Linked DNA regions of Homo sapiens: all the other regions are linked to region 2. Evidence: promoter capture Hi-C in 16 types of primary human blood cells and fetal thymus (Javierre and others, 2016). All regions are on one chromosome and are shown on one strand. The core of a region is centred on a gene start or on the middle of the fragment in contact, and the rest is flanking DNA. Distances in the headings are between cores, read along the strand shown. Region 1 holds the start of PRRX2 (paired related homeobox 2). Region 2 overlaps PTPA (protein phosphatase 2 phosphatase activator). Region 3 holds the start of PTGES (prostaglandin E synthase).

Region 1 (2,989 bases), core at 168-2,667, 540 kb before region 2:
TGTCTCTGAAAAGCCAAGGAACGCAGCCACCAGCCTGGGCACCCTGAGACCTGGAGGCTGGTGCCGGGAACAGGGTCCCCCGGGGCGGGTGGGAGGGCTGCTGGAGTCAGGCGGGCACACTTCAGGGGCCCAGAGCCCCCAGCAGGCCGGCCCATCCCCAGAGCTAGGGGACAGGGGCCTGGTTTCAGATCACCGGGCCCCCATCCTTAGTGTGTGCTGAGCCGCGAGGACTCCGGTCCTCCCCTCCCCCACTGAACCGTCCGGGGCTGGGGCCTTTGCTTTTTCTCCATCTTCTCCCCGTCCCTCCCCTTCTTACCAAGGGCTCAGGACCCTGCCATCCTGTGTCACTTTTTGAAAAAGGCCACTTGGGTGGGTTGTTTGTTTTTAAAGCCCCTTCCTGATGACCTTTGACCTCTGCCGGGGAAGAGAGGCCTGGCTGGGCCGTTCCACCGAGGCAGCTGCTCCCGGGGCAAACTGGAGGGTGGGGGGGGGTGGGCAGGCACCCTCGCCCCCCAAAGAGCCCAACTTAAGACCGAGGAGGAGCTGGGGCGGCGCTAGCTCGTGCGGGAGGGGGCGGGTTTGAAACCCCAACGTGCAGCTCAGCGGCTTTGCCCGACTCAGGTCTCTGTTTCCCCAGTTGTAACCCGGCAGCAGCCACACCCACTTCCCAGGCTGTTCGGGAGCCGAATACTGGGGAGCGAAGGCAGCGCACTTCCCCGTGGGGACGCACCCCAAGACCCGAAGAGGGTCCCCCTCCCCCAGCCCAGAGTGCTGGTCAACCGCCGTCCACCGTCACTTACACGCGCCCCCAGAAGTCCTGCCGCCGACCACGCGCCCTGCATCTTCGCCCGCCCCGCGCCGGCTCCCCGGACCCCGCGCCCCGGCCCCGGCCCCGGCCCCGGCCCCGCCACCCCCGTCCCTGGCCGGCCGTACTCACCATCCTGCGGCGCCGCCTCGCTGCCGCTGCTGCCCCCGGACGGCTCCCGTGCTGCGCCCTCCCGCGCCTCGGCCCTGGCCCCGGGGCGCGCCGCCAGCCGCCCGGCCGCCGCCACCTCTTCCAGGTCCAGGAGGTGGCTCACCGAGAAGTTCTTGCGCGCCTGGGCGCAGTCGCCGGGCCCCAGCGCGGGTGGAGGCGGCGGCGGCCCCGGGCCCAGCGCCGGCTTGTCCAGGGCGAAGGCGGCGGCCGCGCTGTCCATGCCCGCGAGCGGCCCCGGGGGGGCCGGCGGGGGTCTCGGGCTCGGGTCCCAGGAAGGGTCGCGGGCGCGGGTCGGAGCGAGAGCCCCGGCCGCCCCGCGCTCTGCCCAGCTCCCGCCGCCTCCTAGCCTCGCGGCCCGCCCGGCGCTGACGTCGGGGAAACAAACTTTCCGCCCTCCCCTTCTCAGCCACGGCCGCTCGCTCCGGAGCCGCTGGTGCACGCGCTGCGCCGGCCACACGCCCCTTCTTGAAGCAAACCTCGCCCCCCGTCCTCTCCTCCGCCCTCTCCTCCCCGCGCGCCTCGCCCGCCCCCACCCCGGCTGCTGGCGCTGGGGGCGGGGAAGGGGTGTCCTCCCTTCACCCTCCCCACCCACTTTTTAGGGAGTGGGAGGTTCCGTGTTTTGTCGTTTTCCATCCCCCAAGTATCTGGGAGGTGATGGCAGAGGGATTCCCCCCTTCCCTTTACAATCGCCTCCGCAGGTGGAGGGGGCGGCCCAGAGACGAAGGCGACGAGCCCCCCACTCCCAGCTCCAGCCTCACTCGCCTCAGCGCCCCCAACAACGGCCCCGCCCGCCCGCGCTGGCCGACAGAGCTCTGTGCACACCACCCGCCCCAAGGCTGTCTCTCCCAGCAGGCAGCGCATCCTCAGGCTCCTGGGGTGTACGCGACCCCCCACCCCGCCTCTCCCCCGCTGCTCCCTGCCAGGTCCCCCACACACACCCACACACCCGGTGCCCACCCCCCAGGAGGCCCCAGGCCCTTCCCCAAGGAAAACCAAGCGGAGAGGCAGGCGCTTCGTTGCAGAATTCCTGGCGCACACACAGAGGACAGCCAGCCTGAGACGGGTGACAGGAAAGAGAGAGGCAGACTTAGGTGTCCGCTCTTGTTTCAGTTTTGTTTTTCAATGAAAGCACAGAAAAGATGTGCGGAGTGAGCAGACCTGAGACCCTAAGCCCCCCGGATGCCACTGCTCTTTCTCCAGGACAGCCGCTCACCGGCCCGTCCCTCTGTCGCCCTGCCCTCACTACGAGGCATAAAGTCACATCAGCCAAAGTCGCCTACCGGAGGAAGCCTTCAGCACATCCTTTCCCTGTTCCCATATGGAAAACCGGCCCGCACACATCCCTGAAAGCCTGCGGACCATTATTTTTATTTATTATTTATTATTATTATTTATTTTTATTTTTTTGAGACAAGAGTCTGGCTCTGTCGCCCAGGCTGGAGTGCAGTGTCGTGATCTCGGCTCGCTGCAACCTCCGCCTCCTGACTTCAAGCGCTTCTCCTGCCTCAGCCTCTCGAGTAGCTGGGATTACAGGTGTGCATCACCATGCCCGGGTAATTTTTGTATTTTTAGTAGAGGAGGGGTTTCACCATGTTGGCCAGTCTGGTTTCCAGCGTCTGACCTCAGGTGATCCACCTGCCTCGGCCTCCCACAGTGCTGGGATTACAGGCGTGAGCCACCGCACCCAGCCGGGAACACTATTTTTAAGGAAAGCCTAGCAATACATTATAATACATTAATCCTCACAGCGTGTGTTGTTTGTGTCCGCCCCCACCCCCTCCCGCGCTGGAAAGGAATCGACTTCAAAATGAGGCCGAGTAGGCCGGGCACAGTGGCTCACGCCTGTAATCCCAGCACTGTGGAAGGCTGAGGTGGGTGGATCACCTGAGGTCAGGAGTTCGAGACCAGCCTGGCTAACATGGTGAAACCCTGTCTCTACTAAAAATAATAATAATAAAAAAAATTAGCTGGGCATGGTGGCAGGCGCCTGTAATCCCAGCTACTGGGGAGGTT
Region 2 (3,081 bases), core at 192-2,691:
TCCCAGCTACTCGGAAGGCTGAGGCAGGAGAATGGCGTGAACCCAGGAGGTGGAGCTTGCAGTGAGCCAAGACTGCGCCACTGCACTCCAGCCTGGGCAACACAGCGAGACTCCGTCTAAAAAAAAAAAAAGATAAAATAAAAAATAAAAAAAATTCCTTTTTATAGCTGCACAGTACTCCATGATATTGATGGACTAATTTATTTAAATAATCCCCTACAGATGGATACTTGGAACATTTCCAGTTTGCTGTAATACAGTGACTTAATAAACAGCCTTGTAGTGCAGAGGGCCGTATGTGCACAGTCGTGTTTCCCAGAAGATGACCAAGCAGAGTATAAACTCATTTGTAATTTTGCTAAGTGAAATTGACATTTTAACAAACTGAGATTTGTATATGCCTAGAAGCGCTATACAATGCAGGCCCTTCCCCAACTGGTGCCAGAACCACCCTCACTGCCAGCCCAGTCCCTGGCCTGTCCTGTGGCAGCCTCACCTCATCAAGTTTGGCATACCAGGTCCTGTATGCCTTATTCCCAAACCGAGAGGGCTGGTCCACTGGAGGAGTCTCATCAATCCACCTGTCCAGCGTGTTGAGAAGAGCGACTAGTTTCTCAATGGCCTGTGGAGGCAAAATAGAGGGGTCCAAGCTACAGAGCAAGTGGCTCCCGCTTAGCCACAGAGGGAAGTCCACTGCTGCCAGACAATGACCCCTTGGCATGGCCCCTACTGGGAACTCTCCCCCATCCCTCTTTCTTCCCCACTGTTCTGAATATGAAGGAGGGTCAGGAGAGCATGATAGGCTTTCCAGAGAGGGAAGCACACTAGGCTGATGGGACAGGGACGGGGTGGCTTTAGCACCTGGTTTCTGTAGGCAGCCTACCCATGGGCTGCTGCTATAGAGAAGCTAACTCCAGCCCTGACATCTTTTTAAAAAGACTTTATGGAAGCCTTTTGTTCAGTATGCAATACCTACTCATCATAAAAAATAGAAATATAAACAGAAGAAAATGAAAATGACCAGTAATCCTGCCACCCAGAAATACACTAAACTTTTTTTTTTTTTTTTTGAGACAGAGTTTCGCTCTTGTTGCCCAGGCTGGAGTGCAGTGGTGCAATCTCGGCTCACTGCAACCTTTGCCTCCCAGGTTCAAGCGATTCTCCTGCCTCAGCCTCCCAAGTAGCTGGGACTAAAGGCGCACACCACCACGCCCAGCTAATTTTTGTACTTCTAGTAGAGATGGGGTTTCTCCATGTTAGTCAGGCTGGTCTCAAACTCCCGACCTCAAGTGATGCACCTGCATCGGCCTCCCAAAGTTCTGGGATTACAAGCGTGAGCCACCGTGCCTGGCCTACACTAAACATTTTAACATACCCTTCTGTGTTATCTTCTCATAGTGTTTTACATGGTTTAGCATGGTGGGCCTGGATTCAAACCCCAGCTAAAACACCATTTAGCTGCTGTGAGACCTTGAGCAAGTGACTAACTCTGAGCCTCTCAGTTTCTTCGTCTAAAAAATGGGGCTGATGATAAATACCTCCGAAGGTGCACAGTGCCCGGCGCGGGGTAATGGTATGCATTCATCGCAGGACACACTCTGCTTTGCAGCCTGCTCCTTTTCCTCATGAACCTCATTCCACATCTACATATAAACATAATCTTATGACAACTTTTACTAAGTGAATAACATTTCATCGTGCCACTGCATTATAATTAATTTAATTCCTCACTGTTAAATGTTTGGGTTATTTCCACCTGTTTCACTACCTATTTCATACACAATGCTATGGTAAATCAGCTTGCAACTCAATCTTTGTGGAAATGCCAGATCATCGTGTGCAATGCTTTGTAGGGTGGCAGAGTTTGAGAGCCCATCCCCCTACACCTTTCCCACAGAAGACAGGGACCAAGAAGTAGAATCGGAGTCAGAGGTGCGGGCAGCATTGGCACATAAAATGTTACTCAATGAAGAAATCGGGTGGCTGTCTATCCAACCCAAAGATCAGTTAGAAGGTGCTCCTTCCAGGTTGGCTTTTAGAAATAGCCCAGCACCAGGGCCGGTGGAAAATACAACGCGGAGGCTATCTGCAGCCATTCAGTCCTGAGAAAAGAGTCCCTGCCAGGAAGTGGATCTTGCCTGTGTCTATGGAAACAAACGGCATAAGAAACTTACAGGAAATCCTGGCACTGGGTAAGAACTAGCAGGGTGATGCCCACATGAGAAGTTGCGCCTGGGAGGGCAAGGCAGACCAGGCCTGCCATGTGCAAAGACTCAGCCAAGAGCTATGTATGTACCTGGGGAGAGGCAGGCTTAAGCTAATGAAACAGGCTGGCCATGCCCCCAGCTGCATATGTGAAACCGGCCCTGAGTGCTGCTCTCTCTTATCTCCCCTTTATCTAGGCTTGGGGCATGGGAGGACAGAAAAAGTAGCCTGTAAGAGGATAAATTTCCCTTTACACCTGGCTAAGGCAGAGGGCTAGGATGGCATAAAGCTGCCTTGCTGAAATGTGAGAGCGCTGCCAGAGCCTGGCTTTGTGAAAAACCAGGAATGGCTGATAAGCACAGGCCAGACCTAACCCATGCAGAAACGGGGGCTTACAATGGATGGCACAGTCATCTTGGCCCCAGGAAGCACTAGTCAGCCCCAGATTCCCCAGGGATCTCAGTCTTAGGCGAGGCACTGAAGGGGACAGAGAAGACGGAGTCACAGGAGCCAGGCCCCAGCTGCTAGCTCAGCTGGGCCAATGAATAATTCAAAGGCTCCCAGCTCCTCTTCAGGAGAGGGCTTTTTGAATGTTGTAGGGGCTGCCTCTATTGTTTGCTGTGTTGGGAGAGAAGGGCTGAAAGAAAGGGAACTGGGGCTGAAACACCTTCGAGGCACAAAGAACAACTCCAGCTCTCCCATTCTCCCTAGGCCAGTGTTTCCTTTTTGGATTTCAAGGACCAGTAAAATCTTCCCTAACATTTTACTGACCATTTTTGAATTTTGCCCCCTTGTAAGTTTTAAAAAAGCAAACAGAACAACAACAACAAAAATAAATCTCTTATCACATTTATTTTGCAAAAATCGAAAATGTTA
Region 3 (3,217 bases), core at 690-3,189, 620 kb before region 2:
AATTGCTTGAACCTGGAGGTGGAGGTTGCAGTGAGCAGAGATCACGCCATTGCACTCCAGCCTGGGTGATAGAGCAGGAGTCTGTCTCACAAGAAAAAAAAAAAAAGATCCCTGACCTTGTGGAGGTCCTGCCAGAACCCGGGGAAGCGGGCAGGATGCAGCAAGGTGAGGATTTTTTTTGAGACAGAGTCTCGGTCTGTCGCCCAGGCTGGAGTACAGTGGTGCAATCTTGGCTCACTGCACCTCCACCTCCCAGGTTGAAGCGATTCTCCCGCCTCAGCCTCCCAAGTAGCTGGGATTACAGGTGTCTGCCATCACATCTGGCTAATTTTTGTATTTTTAGTAGAGAGGGGATTTCACCACGTTGGCCAGGCTGGTCTCGAACTTCTGACCTCAGATAATCTGCCCCCCTCGGCCTCCCAAAGTGCTGGGATTACATGTGTGAGCCACCTGGCCAAGGTGAGGATTTTGAGGTGAGGGATTCAAAGAATCTTAGAAAACAAACGTTGATGCTTTCTTTCTTTTTTGAGACAGGGTCTTGCTCTGTCACCCAGGCTAGAGTGCAGTGGTGAGAACATGGCTCACTGCAGCCTCAGCCTCCTGGGTTCAGGTGATCCTCCCACTTCAGCCTCCTGAGTAGCTGGGAATACAGGCGAGCACCACCATGCCCAGCTAATTAAAACATTTTTTTGTAGAGACGGAGTCTCCCTATGTTGCCCAGGCTGGTCTTGAACTTCTGACTTCAGGTAATCTGTCCCCCTTGGCCTCCCAAGGGGCTGGAATTACAGGTGTGAGCCACCGCGCCCGGCCTGGTGATGCTTTCTACTGAAGAGTCAGTTGATAGGTCTTTCGGGGAGATCTTGTGATGAAGAATCAAAGCATTTGACTGGGGAAAGAGTTCCAGGATAGTCAAGTGATGCTCAGGAAGTCAGTGGAGCCACGTGCTGGTTCCCCATCCCTGCTATAGCAAATTACCACAGACTTAGTGGCTTAAAACAACACAGCTTCATTCTCTGACAGTTCTGGTGGATGAAGCCTGAAATGGGTCTCACAGGGCTAAAATCAAAGTGTCGGGAGGGCTGCGTTCTGTCTGAACGCAGAGAGTTTGTTTCGTCCCCTTTTCCAGTTTCTAGAGGCCCCTGGTATTCCTTGGGCCATGATCTCTCCTTCATCTTCAAGGCCAGCAGGTTAGCGTCTCTCCTGTCTGACCCCTATTCTGTCCTTTCATCTCCTCTCTTAATGCTGCCTCTGTTTTTATATCTTTTCTCTAATTTTACTGCCTCCCTCTTGGAAGGGCCCCTCTGTATACTCTGGGCTCACCCAGATAAACTAGGATAATTTCTCCCATCTCAAATCCTTACGAAATCCCATGTGAAAAGTCCCTTTTGCCACATAGTCACAGTCACGGGTTCTAGGGATTGGGACATGGATGTCTTTAGGGGTGGAGGGCGTCCTTCAGCCTGCCACAGATGGCAAAGTCATGCCATTGTGGCTGCAGCTCCATTGTCCAGGCTGAGTGTGGGGGCGCATGGCGTGGTTCTCATGCCCACCACCTACCCTGACCCTGCGGAGGTGGGCAGGAGGCAGCGATAATCACCACGTGCAGAGGTCCTGCCAGGTGCCCAGCCTCATCATTCCCTAGAAGGCAGGCACCACCACATGCTCCCACACTGTAGATAAGGAAACAGCTTTGAAACAGATTTGAAAGTGTTTGAGGATTTGCCTGGAAGGAGGGCTCCAGAGCCAGGGACTGGGTCCGGGACACCCGGAGACTCTCTGCTTCTTGGAGCTCCGGCAACTGCTTGTCTTTCTCTTCACAGGAGAAGGGGGCCCTGCTGCCGCTGCCGTGGGGCGGGGCGTGGGCGGTGCTGGCTGCAGGAAGGCTCTCCCCTCCCACTTTGTGCTTTCCCTGCAGGCTGCTCCTCTGTCGAGCTGATCACACCCACAGTTGAGCTGCGCTGGCCAGAGATGCCTGCCCACAGCCTGGTGATGAGCAGCCCGGCCCTCCCGGCCTTCCTGCTCTGCAGCACGCTGCTGGTCATCAAGATGTACGTGGTGGCCATCATCACGGGCCAAGTGAGGCTGCGGAAGAAGGTATGTGCCTCCCTGGGGGTCCCCGGCCTGGGTCATACTTGCTTCTCTCCACGTCCTGTCAGGAAAGCCCCGGGATAGGGAAACATGGCCAAGGTGTGTGCAGGGCTGGGAGGTGAGCACCTCTTCCAGCCCCGCCGGGGGGCTTCCTGCCAGTCCCACGTGTCAGCAAGGCCTGCACCTTCTCCTCTCTGGCTTAAGAGCACTTACTCGCTTGCCGTGCCACCGGGCTGAGTTCTTGGCATGGAGAGAGCCAGCGAGTGTCTGTGAGAGAAGCAGGTTCTGGAGGGTGGAGTGTGGGAGCGTGACAGCACAAAGCCTCTGTCTAACCTGGTGGCTTCCCGGCACGGGAGGTCTGATATCTGGGTGGAGTGGGAACCGGCAAAACAGGAGTCCGAGAAACGTTTAAGTGGAAATTCCCAACTCCTGGCAAATGTCACTAACAAGCCCACTGTAGCCTCCAAAGGCCAGCTCCCAGCCGGGCACCGTCGGGGTGCTCAGCGAGGAATTTCCCCACTAATCCGAGCCCCTGAACCAAAACAACATTAACGAGTCCCAGAGCTGGGCCGGGGCAAGTTCCAGTAGCGTCCGTCACACTGGTTGGCGAGTCTGCAAAGTCATAGGCTGAGCTTGTCGGCTGTCCTGGCGGCAGAATGCAGAAAGACCCCAGGCACCTGTTACTTCCTCCCCAGGTATTTTAATAAAGCAATCATTTCCTGAAACTGTCTCTGTCTTCCCCTGTGTCCAGTTCAAAGGCGAGGTGAGGCAAGGCTGGCTCTGGCACTGCATGCGGGTGGATCCTGGGGAGTGAGGATCTTGGCCACAAGCCAGGCTCAGGCCCTGCTGCAGGTACAGGCAGGATTAAAGGCAGGGCAGCTGCCCAAGTGATAGGATGCCCGGAGGCTACAGCACACTGATAGCTTCTGACTTCTCCCTGCCTTGGCTGGTCCTGGGATATGGGATCCGGGCATCAAGTAGAACAGCTGCATTCACTCATTGAATCCTTCCCAGAGGACCGAATGTGGCCCGGAGCTGAGCATGAGATCCCCGCCACAGCCCTGAGGGCAGGGGAGGCGCCATAGTCATCCTGTTTTCTAGGTGAGGAACCTGGGCTCAGAGAGGAGAC

What was found. Contacts are between HindIII fragments. The CHiCAGO score rates a contact against its expected background, and 5 or more counts as called.
Region 1: the fragment with the promoter of PRRX2 here is called in contact with a fragment that was not itself captured in region 2 in 8 of 17 cell types (naive CD8 T cells, naive CD4 T cells, activated CD4 T cells and 5 more); the score reaches 7.2 in naive CD8 T cells.
Region 3: a contact is called between the fragment with the promoter of PTGES here and a fragment that was not itself captured in region 2, in 2 of 17 cell types (naive CD8 T cells and non-activated CD4 T cells). The highest score is 5.6, in naive CD8 T cells.

Annotation. Positions count from the first base shown.
Region 1 is chr9:129,664,075-129,667,063 of GRCh38, reverse strand. PRRX2 (paired related homeobox 2) reads right to left here and starts at 1,417. Exons shown (of 4, transcript NM_016307.4): 1 at 938-1,417. The coding sequence starts at 1,196. The HindIII fragment of the contact is 25,989 bases long and covers 1-2,989 here.
Region 2 is chr9:129,126,526-129,129,606 of GRCh38, reverse strand. It overlaps PTPA (protein phosphatase 2 phosphatase activator), which reads right to left. Exons shown (of 10, transcript NM_178000.3): 4 at 497-622. Among named protein-coding and RNA genes, the nearest start is that of PTPA, 17 kb to the right of the region's middle. RefSeq lists an enhancer at 1,839-2,761. The HindIII fragment of the contact is 7,662 bases long and covers 1-3,081 here.
Region 3 is chr9:129,751,764-129,754,980 of GRCh38, reverse strand. It overlaps PTGES (prostaglandin E synthase), which reads left to right and starts at 1,939. Exons shown (of 3, transcript NM_004878.5): 1 at 1,939-2,094. The coding sequence starts at 1,969. The HindIII fragment of the contact is 13,279 bases long and covers 1-3,217 here.